Regions from separate parts of the Homo sapiens genome. Here region 2 is linked to region 1. The links are contacts of gene promoters, found by promoter capture Hi-C in human tissues and cell types (Jung and others, 2019). All regions are on one chromosome and are shown on one strand. Each heading gives the region's core, a stretch centred on a gene start or on the middle of the fragment in contact. The rest is flanking DNA. Distances are from core to core; before and after follow the strand shown.

Region 1 (7,387 bases), core at 3,392-5,891:
CCAGCATACAGTAGGTGCTCAATAAATTACCAAGGTCATGGTCAGGGAGCACAGAGCCATTTGCCAATGGCAAAAACCATTCCAGAAGCTTTGCAGAGGCCAGAGGCATGGAGTAAAAACATACTCTCTGCCCATGAGGCTGCCCCACCCCACCCCAGGCTCAAACAAGGGCATGGGGAGGAGGGGGAAGGGAGGGAGAGGAGTCCATTCCCAGGGGAAGAGGTGGTCAGGGGAGAGCTGGAAAGGGCAAGATCTATCCGCTTCTTAATTGACTTTGAAAGGTCAGGGCTGAGTCGTGCTCAGTAAGTCCTGCCCCCTGTGGGGTCCTCAGCGGCAGAGCTGCCTCCCCCACCCCAGACTCTTGGGCAGAAGCTTGTGGGTCCTGTGGAGATGGGATGGGTGGGGGCGTACTCCAGGCTGGAACAGTGTGATCCAGTCCCTCCCTTCCACTTGAAACCTCCCACCCAGACCAAGTCACTCAAAATAACCTCCCTCCCCTCTCCTCTGCCCTCTCTCTCCCCATCTCTCTGCCCCTAGTCTCTCCCTTCCTCCTGTGACATTTAGAGAATTAGGTCTCCAGGAGCCTCAGTTTCTCCCTTCTGTAAAAGGGGGCACAGGCTTTATAGTCATCACATCACAGACCGGAACGTCCTTGCTAGAATGCGATATCAGCTCCGTAACATGCAGTATTTGAACGATTATTATTATTCCACGGGGACTAGGGGGCTGAGACAAGAAATAAACCGGTTCTTCATGGCAGGAGACACCCACCGAGGGCTAGAAGTCCCCTTTGCCCCACTTTCTATCGACCCCCAGGGCTCTGCTGACCTAACTCGGGTACCCGGGCAGGAGACACTTCCGGCAGCCAGAGGAGGAAATACACTTCCCATTGCTAATTTCCTCAAGGGGGAACCGGTCCAGCTCTCACCCCTCCTCCCTCCCACCCCTCCTCCCCAACCTGCTGGCATCTTGCGGATGCTGGACATGGGGGGGAGGGGTGCCCAGACAGCCCTCTCTTCTTCCCCACGTGAGATCTGCCCAACGTGGAAACCCCAAAAGTCAGCATGGAACGTCAGACTCTTAGAACGCCACAGTGCAGCCGACGTATGTGTGGCAGCTGGGAGTGTGAGGCTATTTCTGACCCCTTCCTGGTACAGATGGGGAAACCGAGGCCCGCAGCAGCAAGGCAGTTGTCTAAGTCACTTGATGTCTCAAGACTGGGCAAACCTCCTGTCGCTGTTAACTAAACAGCTTCCCTTCCCCTGAGGTTTTTCTCTTCACTCTCTGAACTTCTGTAATTTTTCTCAAGTCTTTCTGAGCGTCTCTGGCCCCTCTGAGAACCTACTAGAAGATACGACCTTCTCCCCACAAAGAAAGCAAGCGACCTTCCATCACCTGATCCCCATAACCCCGTTCCCCTTCCAGGACCCTCTCTGGTTGGGATCTAAGTTCTGCCCCTTAGGCTCTGTTGAGGGGGTAAACCCCCAAATCTCACATCCACAAGAAGCTCCCCCTGTCTGTCCCACAGGCCCCCACTTCTTGGGTCCCTGCTGGCCCCTTCCAGAGAGTCGGGGGGAAGAGAAATATACCCAAGGATGGAGAGATGGTGGGGGGACAGGAAAGACTAGGAAGACCTGGCCCCCCCAACTTTAGCAGCCTCGGCTGCCGCATCCTGCCAGCCACCCCAAAATCCAGCAAAGCTGAAAAACTTGGAGGATTTTGAGGACAAGAGGGAGAAGTGCTACAGCCCCCCGCATCCCCCAGCACCCCTGGGCTCACTCACCAGCCTTGTCCCCGATGCCACCAGGCTATCTCACCTCCCCCTTTTCCTCCTCTGTGGGCTCCTGCTCCCACCACCCCCCCCTCCCCGCCTTCTCCCTGCAGCCCCAAGGGACCAGCCAGCTCCGGTCTGCTCATTAGGGACGAAATGTGATCACTGGTCCTCGCTCCCCACCTGGTGCCCTGGCGGCCGGCGGAAACCAGGGGGCAATCGGGCTACCCTAACGGCCCCACTGCACCTCAGTATCCCTGTTTCAACCGAGAGGGTCTCTGTGCCCCCAAAGCCCACACTGCCTACTAGGGATACCAGTCCTTAGATGGCCTCTCTGACGTTCTAGGTCTCTATGGTTCTGCAGTCTTCAGGTTCTATCCTTAGTTCACTTCGCAGTTGAATGTTCTATTATAACATTCTAGAGCGTTACTCTTCTTTCATTCTATTTATTACATCGTGGCTTTGTAAGTACCTACCCTAAGTTTCCAATATTCTAGGAGTGTCACATTCCAAGATTCGAAAGTTCTATTGTTAGAACACGCTATGATTTTTTTAAGCATTCTATGACTTTCATAATCTATTATTAAACGCTCAGTGATTTTTATCTTTCCCCAGCAAACAGGAATATGTATTTCCCTTTTCTCTTTTACAGAAATGGGAACATACACTAAATACGGTGAGCCCCACTTCCTTTTCTTTCCCCCCTTCTCTCGCCTGCTTTTGAACATTCCAGCAGCCTGATTTCTAAGATTGTGCAGAATTCTAAGAAATTATGGCTTCATGGAGGGAAGAGAGGGGCGTGTTAGTCACCACCTCCACCTGGCCCCTAAATTCTCACCACCTGGGGGTGACATGCTATATCCAGGCCGCCTCTCTACCCTTTCGCTAGTGGGCCTAGCCTCAGCCCTCCCCGCTCACACCAGCTGAGTTATTATTTGTCTAGACACAAACCAAATTATAGGCCCTGTCCCCGAGGGAACGGTGGGCTCCAGGCGGAGGGTCAGGAGACTGAAGCTGGAGTTAATCCCGGTTCCCCTCCACCTCCCTCCCTCTCTTCCCGAAACTCCACCCCTTCCACCCAAACCAACTATTGCCCCTCTCCCTCCCCACCACCATGGTTTTGGAAATATTTTCTCTCCTCTGCTTCTAAAACCCTCCCTTCTGGATTCCAGCCATTTCTACTCACCCTGGCATCTCTCCCTCCTCATTGAGAAGACCTCTTTCCCCAAATTAATCCGACTTAGTGGTAGCAGAAGAAGCCAGCTCTGTGGATTTGGGCTTCAGTTGAAAACTGGGGTCCCAACCCTCCAGCCTGGCACTGACTCACTGTGGGGACTTCTGCTTTTGGACCTCAGTTTCTCCATCTATAAAATGGGGGCAGGGGGAGTTGGCCTAGGTGGCTCCGCAAACCCTTTCCAGCTCTCAGCTGCCATCACTGAAACGTGCCAAGATTTCAACACTCCTCTTTTTGGATTGAAGGACTCCAGTATCCCCAGGACCTTTGATTGGAAAGATCTGGAATTCCCAGGCCTCCCCTCCAATGCTTCTTCCATCTGGGCCCTTCCATTCAAAGATGTTCACATTCAAGGTACTTGATCATAGGATTCCCAGGGTTCCAGGAGCCCCTATGGGTCTTTCATCCTCTTCAGCTGGGATTCCCCCAGAAAAGAAAACCTCCTCATCCTCACCCCAAACCTGAAGTCAAGTTCATCTACAAAGACAGAGGTGGGGGCGGATACCCCCTTGGTGGGCTCAGGAGGAGGGGGGCTGATGGTGGGCTCTGGAGGGGGAACTGGGGGGTGTGGCCCCATCCTCTCCACTTCTGCGCCAAACAAATTCCCCAATGCATATCCAGCCTGAGTACGCACACACACACATCCCACAACCGATGCCTCACAGATATCCTAGAGCTATTCCTCAGCCTAGTTTGGGAGGAGGGGTTGTCCAGTTCCAGGGGGGAGAGTGAGGCGGAAGCAGGAAAGAGTTAATGGTGACCCAGCCAAATCCTGGAAGAGAGGAAGTAGGGGAGGAAGTCCACCCCCCAGGCAGGAATTCCTGAAATTGGCGGGCGGGCTGGGTGCGACCTGAGGGGCAGTGGGGTGGCTCCGTGAAGGGGGCGCTGGGATCATGGTGTCACTTAGAGTCCGCCTGCCCCAGGTCACAAGCCTCCTGCCCCCTACCCCACTCCCAAGCAGGTTCCCAGCCCAGAGGAAAGTTCCGGGATGCGGAGGATTTGGAAGGAGAGAAGACAGAGCTGAAGGTGCCAAAACAGTGTTATAAGAGACGGAGAGAAAGAGACAGGGCAATAGAGATGAAGAGACAGGAAGGGAGAGAGCAAAGAGATACACAGAGACAGGGAGAGATGGAGATAGAGTCAGAGACATCCGCAGAGGTCCCACAACAGACGGGGGTGAGGCAGAGGCAGGGGCAGAGGGAGGTGGGACCCAGAAACAGAGAGACAGAGACAGACAGACGGAGACAGAGAGGCAGAGATCAAGAAAAAGACAGAGACATCCAGAGACACAGAAGGAAAGACACGTCCAGAGGCAGAGGGACCACAGACACAGAGACATCAGGCGGGAGTTGGAGACAGACGCAAAGCCAGGGAGAGCAACAGAGGGGGCGGGCACCGAGACGGCGCGGGAGACTGAGGCAGCCCCCGAGGGGGCGGGGAGGAGCGGTCTCGCCACGAGCAGGGCAACCTAGTGAGACCCCGCAGCATCGCGGGCAGCCGGGGAGGACCCGGCACTTACCTGCGCGCGGCGACTGGACGGGGCGGGCGGCGGCACCTCTCTCCGCTGCGTCCAGGTCCCCGGTCTTGACAACGGCGCGGGGACCCAGCGGATGCCCCCGCGGGGCAGAACAGCGGCTACTCCTCCCGGCCCCCGGGCCAGAGCCGCCAGCCGAGGCCCCGCCCCGGCCAGGCCCGCCCCCATTAACCCCACCTTTGCCGCTGCCCCTTAACCCCTTTCAGGCTTCACCCCATTAAACGCCTCCAGCCACGGGTGAGGCTCATCTGCTACTGGAACACCCCCGAATCCTTCCAAGTCCCCAGCTGGAAGGTCCCCTCTCTCCAACCACACACCCCCAAATTTATCAGGTCCTCGGCTATGGGAAGAGGAGGCCCCCGCTACTGACCTTCCCTGGGTTAAGCCATTTCCTCCCTTAGAGACCCCAGGCTTCAGTCATTCATCCTCTGGTCATTAACCTTCTGCATCTTCCTCCCCAACAACGGAGAGAATAAAGGGTTCTGTTAGGTCCCCAACTCCAAAGTCAGGGCCACCCCTAGAAGGAGCTCTGGGGTTGCATTTCCAGCCTGACTCTTGGTCAGACCTTAGGCTAGTGACATCTCCGTGCCTCAGTTTCCTCTTTGAATCAAGGTGGTCACTCATGGTGCCTGCTTGCTTCCTTCTTTTCTTTGCTTTGCTTTGCTTTGCTTTTTTCTTTCTTTTCTTTCGAGACAGAGTCATGCTCTGTTGCCCAGACTGGAGTGCAGTGGCACAATCTTGGCTCACTGCAATCTCTGCCTTCCAGGTTCAAGCGATTCTCCTGCCTCAGCCTCCCGAGTAGCTGGGATTACAGGCACACACCACCACGCCCGGCTAATTTTTGTATTTTTAATAGAGACGGGGTTTCACCAAGTTGGCCAGGCTGGTCTCGAACTCCTAAGCTCCAGCTATCTGCCCACCTCGGCCTCCAAAAAGTGTTGGGATTACAGGCGTGAGCCACCGTGCCCCACCTTTTTTCTTTTTTTGAGACAGGTTTTCACTCTCTTGCCCAGTCTGGAGTTCAGTGGCACGATCATGGCTCCCTGCGGCCTCAACCTTCCAGGCTCAAGTGATCCTCCCACCTCAGCCTCCTGAGTTGCTGGGACTACAGGCGTGTGCCACCACACCTGGCCAATTTAAAAAATTTTTTTTTTCTATAGACAGGGGTCTCACTATGTTGTCTAGGCTGGTCTCAAACTCCTGGGCTCAAGCCATCCTTCTGCTTTGGCCTCCCAAAGTGCTGGGATTATAAGCCTGAGCCACCGAGGCCGGCCATCATGGTCCTTTTCTCCTGGCGGTCTCATTTAATGGTGTCAATGCTATCAAGTCTGTAAAATATGCCAACCAGACCCCAACACTCCCCATCTTTCTCTGCCTCACTTTTCCCCTACCCTTTGGGGAAGGCAACATTCTCTTATTTTTTTCTAGTTGTCTGCCTTCCTACTAGGAAGAGTGTCATTTTTGTGTCTGGCTTGTTTACTGTTGCATGTCTGTTGCCTAGAAGACTGCTGGGCAGGTGATAGGTGTGAAACACATTGTTTTCTGGCCGAGCGTGGTGGCTCACGCCTGTAATCCCAGCACTTTGGGAGGCTGAGGCAGGCGGATCACGAGGTCAGGAGATGGAGACCATCCTGGCTAACACAGTGAAACCCCATCTCTACTAAAAATACAAAAAAATTAGCCAGATGTGATGGTGGGCGCCTGTTGTCCCAGCTAATCAGGAGGCTGAGGCAGGAGAACGGCATGAACCCGGGAGGCGGAGCTTGCAGTGAGCCAAGACCGCGCCACTGCACTCCAGCCTGGGTGACAGAGCAAGACTCCATCTCAAAACAAAAAACAAAAAACATTGTTTTCAGGGAGTGAACAAATGAATGATAAGTGCTCCTAAAACATTAGCTTATTTTTATTATTAACATCACATCTTTCATAAACTAATCATGAGAATTCATTATTGGTCAAGGGACTTCAGATAGATGTGGCATATAACACTAAAAAATGATAGCTGTCAGGTTTGATTTTTTTTTTTTTTTTTGAGACAGAGTCTTGCTGTGCCCAGGCTGGAGTGCAGGGACATGATCTCAGCTCAATACAACCTCCTCCTGCCGGGTACAAGCAATTCTCCTGTCTCAGCCTCTGGTAGCTGGGTATACAGGCATGCACCACCACACCCAGCTAATTTTTTTGTTTTTAGTAGAGACAGGGTTTCACCATGTTGGCCAGGCTGGTCTCGAACTCCTGACCTCAGGTCATCTGCCTGCCACGGCCTCCCAAAGTGCTGGGATTACAGGCATGAGCCACGGCACCTGGCTTGTTTTTTGTTTTTTTGAGACAGAGTCTTGCTCTGTCCCCCAGGCTGGAGTGCCATTGTGCCATCTCAGTTAACTGCAACCTCCACCTCCCAGGTTCAAGTGATTATCCTGCCTCAGCCTCCCGAGTAGCTGGGACTACAGGTGAACACCACCACACCCGGCTACTTTTTGTGTTTTTAGTAGAGACAGGTTTTCACCATGTTGGCCAGGCTGGTCTCGAACTCCTGACCTCAGGTGATCAGCCTGCCTAGGTCTCCCAAAGTGCTGGGATTATAGGCATCAGCCATCGCGCCCAGCTCTTTTGTGTTTATTTTTAAATTAAATTAAAATGTAGGCCAGGCATGGTGGTTCATGCCTGTAATCCCATCACTTTAGGAGGCCAAGGCAGGTTGATCAATTGAAGCCAGGAGTTTGAGATCAACCTGGGCAACATAGCAAGACTCTGTCTCTACAAAAAAAAAATTTCTTTTAACTAGCCAGCTGGGTGGTGCGTGCCTGTGGTCCCAGCTACTGCGCAGGCCAAGGTGGGAGGATCACCT
Region 2 (7,387 bases), core at 2,529-5,028, 110 kb after region 1:
TTGCTCGGCGGACACAAAGACTACAGGCGCTGGGGTGGTCGGTCGTGGGTAGCTCTGCAGGGCCAGGGCTGCCCGCTGTTCCACCAGGGCCACCATCTCGGCCACAGAGAGCAGGTCCACGTCCTCACCGGCTGAGGCGGGGCCCTCCTCAGCAGCAGGGGGGCCCTCCCGGCCCCCTGGGTCAGGAGGAGCCTTGGTGGGGTCAAGACAGCGCCTCCGCCGCTTGGCCTTGGAGCTATCGCTGCCCCAGTGCCCCTTGACCTTCATGGAGCTGGCCCGGCTGCCCCCACCACACTGGTGGGCCACAAAGAAGGCCACCTTCTCCTTTGTATTCCCGGGCTTGATGACATACCACGTGTCCAGGAGGACTCGACCCTCATCACCAGCAGCTGCTGCTGAGAGGAGCGGAGCCGGCTGGGAGGCAGGGACCTCAGTGGCCAAGGCGGGTGGTGTGTTCTCTGAGTGGGCAGGCCCATGGTCTGGCTCGGCCCCGCCACCAGGCTCAGGGCAGGCTGATGGCTTGAGGGCCGCAGAAGGCGGGCGTGGCTGGTTCTGTGAGTAGGTGCCAAAGGGCCGGGGGCACCATAGCTGGAAGGGCAGGAGGCTCCCACGGTCCATGCTGGGGGATGATGGCAGACAGGCTGGGCTTCAGCGCATCTCAGGACCTAGGTGGTGGTGGGAGGCTCCACATGCCACCTGGAGACACGAAGAGGAGGTTGGGGAGCTAGGGGGACAGCCTTTCTTCCCAGGACCACCCCAACCTCCACCTCTCCTTAGACCAAACCAGACCATCAAGAACTCTATTCCTGGCTGGGCGCGGTGGCTCACGCCTGTAATCCCAGCACTTTGGGAGGCTGAGGTGGGCAGATCACCTGAGGTCAGGAGTTTGAGACCAGCCTGGCCAACATGGTGATACCCCATCTCTACTAAAAATACAAAAATGTGCTGGGCGTGATAGTCCACGCCTGTAATCCAAGCTACTTGGGAGGCTGAGGCACGAGAATCGCTTGAACCTGGGAGGTGGAGGTTGCAGCGAGACCAGATGGCACCATTACACTCCAGCCTGGGCGACAAGAGCGAAACTCCGTCTCAAAAAAAAAAAAAAAAAAAAAAAGAACTCTATTCCCACTGCCATGCTCAGGTGAGCAGACAGAGGTTGCAGAGGGGATGAGAGATGCCCTTTTAACTTGCAGAGCGGGACCCTAACTGGCAGCACGCACCAACCCCATAGGTCCTACCCCACTGTCCAACTGCCTTTGCCCACAATCCAGAGGCCTTTAAACTGCCATAACTTTTACACTTAAGTGAAAGGACCACTGACAGACAAGGTCCTTTTTCTATTTGCTCACTCAGTAGCTCGTTCCTGAAAAGACAGAAATTCCCAGCCCCACCCACAGCTATGGCTGCTTAAACCCACAGAGAGAGGAACGAAATGCGCTGGGATGGGGATGAAAATCTGAGGTCAGATTCAGACAAGCACTTAAGAAATCGGCTTTTCTTTTTTTTTTTCAGGTAGTGGGGCTTAATGAGAATTTATTAAAGCTGTGTGTCCTCAGTCAGAAAAATGCACACCCTTGCAAAGACAGTACAGGGGATTCCCTAAAGCACAGCCGTGGACCCGCGGAGTAAGAGGGCCTGTTCTAGAGCCTAGGAGGAGTTCCAGGCTGCAGGGAGCAATGATGGCACCACTGCACTCCAACCCGGGTGACAGAGTGAGACCCTCTAAAAAACAGAGAACAAAGCCGGGTGTGGTGGCTTGTGCCTGTAATCTTAGCACTTTGGGAGGCCGAGGTGGGCAGATTGCTTGAGCCCAGGAGTTTGAGACCAGCCTGGGCAAAATCCATCTCTACGAAAAAAGATACAAAAATTAGCCGGGTGGGGTGTGGCGCACCTGTAGTCCCAGCTAGTTGGGAGGCTGAGGTGGGAGTATCGCTTGAGCCCAGGAGGTGGAGGCTGCAGTGAGCTGTGATGCTGTGATCATACCACTGCACTCCAGCCTGGGTGACTGAGAGAGAACCCATCTTGGGAAAAAAAAAGAAAGAAAACACGAGGGTGCCTGTTCTAGCCTAGCTTTCTCCTCAAGCTGCACACAGATAAACAGAGGCTCAGAGTGGGGAAGGGTGACATAGCTAAGATTACAGTGGGTCCGGAGCAAAAAGAGGCTCTCAACTTGATTTCTGGACTCTTCAATTTAGGGCTCTGTTAATGACTATTTTATTTTGGAATGACTTGATGTGAATGACCTAATCTGGAGGCAATCTTGCGCATGAGTCCGACATGATCACTTTCACTGCAGTTTGAACCTACTAAGTAACATATGCCTCAATCTTTCTCTGGCTCATCTCCCTCCAGACAGCTCAAAACCAAAATGACCCTTTAAACCTTGAAACTTCCACATGCCTACAGGCCAGAGAGGTCAGCAAACTATGGCCCAGAAGCCTAATCCAGCTCGCTGTCTTTGTAAATAAAGTTTTATTGAAACATGCTCATTTGTTTATGGATGCTTTCATCTTCAACAGCAGAGCTGAATAGCAGAACAAAGACCACATGGCCTGCAAAGCTTAAAATACCCATTATCTGGCTCTTTATGGAAAAAGTTTGCCAACTCCTGCAGTACAGACCATCCCTCTAAATTCAAACAATTCCAGGCCTGGCACAGTGGCTCACACCTGTAATCCCAGCACTTTGGGAGGCCGAGGCAGGCGGATCATCTGATGTCAGGAATTCGAGATCAGCCTGGCTAACATGGCAAAACCCCGTCTCTACTAAAAATACAAAAATTAGCCAGGCGTGGTGGTGCGCGCCTGTAGTCCCATCTACTCAGGAGGCTGAGGCAGGAGAATAGCTTGAACCGGGAGGCGGAGGTTGCAGTGAACTGAGATCTTGCCACTGCACTCCAGCCTGGGCGACAAGAGCTAAACTCCATCTCAAAAAAAAAAAAAAAAAAAAGAAAGAAAACAAAACAAAATCCAGACAGCCTCCAAGCACTCACAGGTACCAGTAAACACAGAGAATCCCCATGTCAAGAATCTTTATCTCCACTCCATAATCCCCAATCCCACCTACCCCTCAAATACTTACAGTCCCTGCTGTAATCTCAGCTCAGTGTTAAAAATATCACTCCACAGCCTCCAAAACCTATAGATGGCTGTTTACCAACCACCAATTCACATACATGTTGAGTATCTCAAATCTGAAAATCCAAAATGCTCCCAAATTCAGAACTTTTTGAGTGCCAAGATGACACTGATAGGATATGCTCATTAGAGCATTTCAGATTTTTCAGACTTGGCATACTCAACTGATAAGTATAATGCAAATACTCAAAATCCGAAGAAATCCAAAATCCGAAACACTTTTTAGTCCCAAGATTTTCGGGTAAGGGATACTTGACCTGTATAACCAACTGCCCAGGGAGGCAGGCTAACACAGCAAAAGCCAGTCTCTACAGATGCCATCCTGCTACAACCTGGCCACCCCCTCAAGTCCCCTAATCAGTTCCAACCTTACCCCCAGCATCTCAATGTCCTCCCCCAAATATCGAAAAGCTTTCAAATACTACTTTAAACCACCGAACCTAAAAATATCCTCTCCAGCACTGAAGGGCCGAATCTCAGTCAATCTCTCACAGATCCCAACACAGCAATTCCCCAAACTATGTCATAAACAATCACTCTCCCGGAATCCTATACTCCCCCCAACCCTCCTCCATTATCTCCCAATTCCACTAGAAGCCTCCAACAGCAGACGAACTCTTTGAAAACACAAAAGCTCCCTAACACTTTAAGATGAATCTTAAACCATAAAAATGTTTCACAAAGCCAAAAAAAAAAAACAAAGAAACCTCACAAATGTTACAATAGCAGACATGTGCTTACTGCACGCTCGCTGCGAGCTTACTAGGTAGGTACTGCGCTAACAATTCCTAATCCTCCTCGGTCCCTAGGAAGCAGGTAGTGTTATTAATGCCTAGTTCCCGATGAGACACAGGTGAAATCTCCTGTCCGGGTTAAGACAGGTAGGAAGTCAAGACGCGAGCCCAGACATTCCACCTCCAGGACTGGTACTCTCGGGCTCTTTGCTTCTGTCTCTCCGGGAGCTCCCCAAATTCTATGCCCAACAAACACTCCAAAACACAAAGGGAACCCGATCCCGAAAACACAACCGAACCTTCCGCATTACAAACGAACCCAAACTCCAAGGTGCCCCTTAAGCGCGAGAGAACCCCAAAAGTATCCCCTAAACCCACGTTAAAACTTCCCCAAGCCCCAGAACATTTTGCAAATGGAAAAGGAACCCCCAAATCTTGTAACCGCCCCCCCAAAGAAATCTTCCAAACCCCTCAGGTGACCCTCGAAACCTACACACGCCCCCAAAGAGCCCTCACCCGCAGCCCCCCCAGGCGGCGGGAGAAGGCTGCAGCCCACACGCATGCGCGCGAAAGGTAAAAGGGCCCGCCCCCTCGCTCCTTCCCTCCGGCCACCGCGCGGGCAGACTAGCAACTAGCTTCCCTCCGCCCTTTTGTTGACAGACGCGCGCGTGACGCTCTCAGCCAATGAGCGGCCGCCATTCGGGGCCGTGCCCATATAAGGCAGGCCTTGGCGAAGGGGCCCAACTTCGAAATAGGGAGGAGTAGGCGAGAGGTGATGGGAGTGGGTGGTGGGGTAGACACAGCCGGATGCAAGGGAGCGTGGAACAACTCCCAACGTCCAGCTAAACGGAACAAGGTCAGGGCAAAGGCCACGACACTCCAGGGGAGGCTTATTACACCACGTCCCCTCGAACAGAAGCCCTGATTGACGCTTGAGACTTAAAGGGCCAGGCAGCCCGGGGATTAAGAACACCAAGGCGGAAGGAAGCAGGCGGAGAGATCAGAGTATCCAGCTTTGGTTGGGAACTGTGGGGGCGGGGGGCGGGCTGAGGATTTCCGCGGGGGGAATTGGGCATCGGGATAACCCCACCCTGAAAAACAAATGGACAGAACCCTACGAAGGTTCCCACGGCAACTGAAAACAAGCCTCTAGGCCTGGCGTTCAAGGCTCAAGCCGTGTAGCCATTCGGAGCTGCCAGTTCAGCCTTTCCAAACAGGCGCCCCAAACCTGCCTCACTTAGTACAAAAGAGCAGCCAGAAAAGTCCTGTTAAAGCACAGTCCTATAAACCTGAACCCGTCCCTATCCTGGTGAGAACCTGCCATGGCTCCCCAGTGCCCTCTGGAAAACACCCAGGTACCCCACCTGTCCAGTCGCATCCCTCCCCACTCCTCCGCCCCGCAGGCAATACCCCAGTGCACCCTGGTGGGCACCTGATCTGGCATACATAGAATACTCAGGACCCATCTGATCCCCGGTAGGAGTGATCGTCTCCACGGTATGGATGAAGAAACTGACGCAGGGCAGGTCTCCTGACCACAAGGTCACACAGAGCTGGAGTGTGAGCTGGAGCAGGGATATGAAGCCAGGGAATCTGATTTCCTAGTCACTGTGCCCTACTGTTTCACTATATATTCCCTGGGGTTTCAGCTCGACCACCCCTCCTCTAAGAAGCTGACACCCCCAATCCCCCTAGGCCAGGTCAGGCTTCACCCAGGGCGTCCATGCGGTGGGCTCATTGCTGTCTATTCCTCAAAGTTACCGGGCTCTTGCCTTCCCTGGTCTCTGCATTTGCTGTTCCCACCAACTGCAATACATTCCCCCTCTGCAAGGCTCAATTCCTTACTTCATTCAGGTCTGTGTTCAAATGCAGTTTTATTAGAGAGGCCTTCTCCAACTCCCTTCCTGGAAATCACCCACCTGCCCAGAGGGGACCTCTGGGTTCCCTCTTCCCTGCCTACTCTGGGTCATCGTCTGGGGTGGGTCTCTCTCCAGGCCTGAGACAGGATCTTCTAACTCCCCCACACTGAGCCCAGCATAAGGCCCTACACTAGGTCAGCCTTCAGCAACTACTCCATGAAAATCTATTCATTGTAAAACATTGTGAACCAAAAATATGGAAAATCAAAAGACGGCAAAAAACTGGCTGGGAAAACACGAACCAAGAGACAAGTAGAGGAGTAACATTACCCCTTAAAAAAAAAAAAAAAAAAACTTGGCCAGGCACGGTGGCTCACACCTGTAATCCCAGCACTTTGGGAGGCAGAGGGGGGACACAATCCCTTGAGCTCAGGAGTCTGCGACCAGCCTGGGCAACATGGTGAAACCCCATCACTACAAAAAATACACAAATTAGCAGGGTGTGGTGGCACGTGCCTGTAGTCCCAAGTACTCAGGAGGCTGAGGTGGGAGGATTGCTTGAGCCCAGGAGGTAGAGGCTGCAGTGAGCTCAGATCAGGCCACTGCACTCCACTCTGGGTGACAGCACGAGACTGTCTTAAATTAAATTAAAAATAAATTAAATAAATAAAAAATAAATAAACTGACAAAAGCAATGGATGATGACGAAACAAAATGACCAATTATTTACTTCTCTACATGAGTCCCTAGGGCTGGGGGAGGGAGGTGGAAGTGACCCATTATACACAAAAGTTCTCAACATACATGATCCAAATACTATGGCTTCCAAATAGATAAAGCAAAAAACGACCATCTCTACACATGACAGCCATAAACTTACAAATGACAAGGGAAAGTTTGTTAAATCCACAATTGATATGGGAAAACAACATATTTCTAAGAAAAGACTGCTTGGGAAAATTAGTAAGGACCTGAACCACTCAATCTACACCCTTGGTTGAATGCCCCCAACAATTAAATAATCCACATATTTACATCCCTAGCATACATACATACATGGTGCATTTGCAAAAACTTGTCTCTGACATTCACTGTGGTCCTGCATGCTGGCCATTGTTGGGCGCTGGAACACACAGGTGACACTGAGCTCCCCAGGAATGGCTCATGGGAAAGGGGTCAGACATCCAAACAAACAGTCAGAACCAACATGAATATATTAGAAAATGATAATCACAACAGCAGTCAATACTCGAGCACTCTACAAATATGAACTTGTTTGATTCTTCTATCTCCTATTTTTAATTTCGTGTTGAAGATAAGGAAACTGAGGCAGAGAATGGCTAAGTAATTGCCCTCATTTATAGCTTTGTAGCAGAACTCTGTTTTTGTGAGTGTGTGTTTTGTTTTTTGTTGTTTTCTGAGATGGTCTCACTGTCACCCAGGCTGGAGTGCAATCTCGCCTCAACGCAGCCTCAATCTCCTGGGCTCAAGTGATCCTCCCATCTCAGCTGCCTTCTTTTTTGTTTTTTTTTTTAAGACGGAGTCTTGCTCTGTTGCCCAGGCTGGAGTGTAACGGTGCGATCTCGGCTCACTGCAATCACTGCAACCTCTGCCTCCCGGTTCAAGCGATTTGCTTGCCTAAGCCTCCCAAGTAGCT

Evidence for each region. Contacts are between HindIII fragments. The study calls those that stand out against the background at their distance.
Region 2: a contact is called between a fragment that was not itself captured here and the fragment with the promoter of GPR4 in region 1, in 4 of the 25 tissues and cell types used here (dorsolateral prefrontal cortex, heart left ventricle, mesenchymal stem cells and 1 more).

The regions. Positions count from the first base shown.
Region 1 is chr19:45,597,571-45,604,957 of GRCh38, forward strand. It overlaps GPR4 (G protein-coupled receptor 4), which reads right to left and starts at 4,642. Exons shown (of 2, transcript NM_005282.3): 1 at 4,525-4,642. RefSeq lists enhancers at 1-443, 444-1,080. The HindIII fragment of the contact is 53,447 bases long and covers 1-7,387 here.
Region 2 is chr19:45,712,878-45,720,264 of GRCh38, forward strand. It overlaps FBXO46 (F-box protein 46), which reads right to left. Exons shown (of 2, transcript NM_001080469.2): 2 at 1-696. The coding sequence starts at 618. Among named protein-coding and RNA genes, the nearest start is that of FBXO46, 14 kb to the right of the region's middle. RefSeq lists enhancers at 4,079-4,749, 4,750-5,420, 4,863-4,912. The HindIII fragment of the contact is 7,183 bases long and covers 188-7,370 here.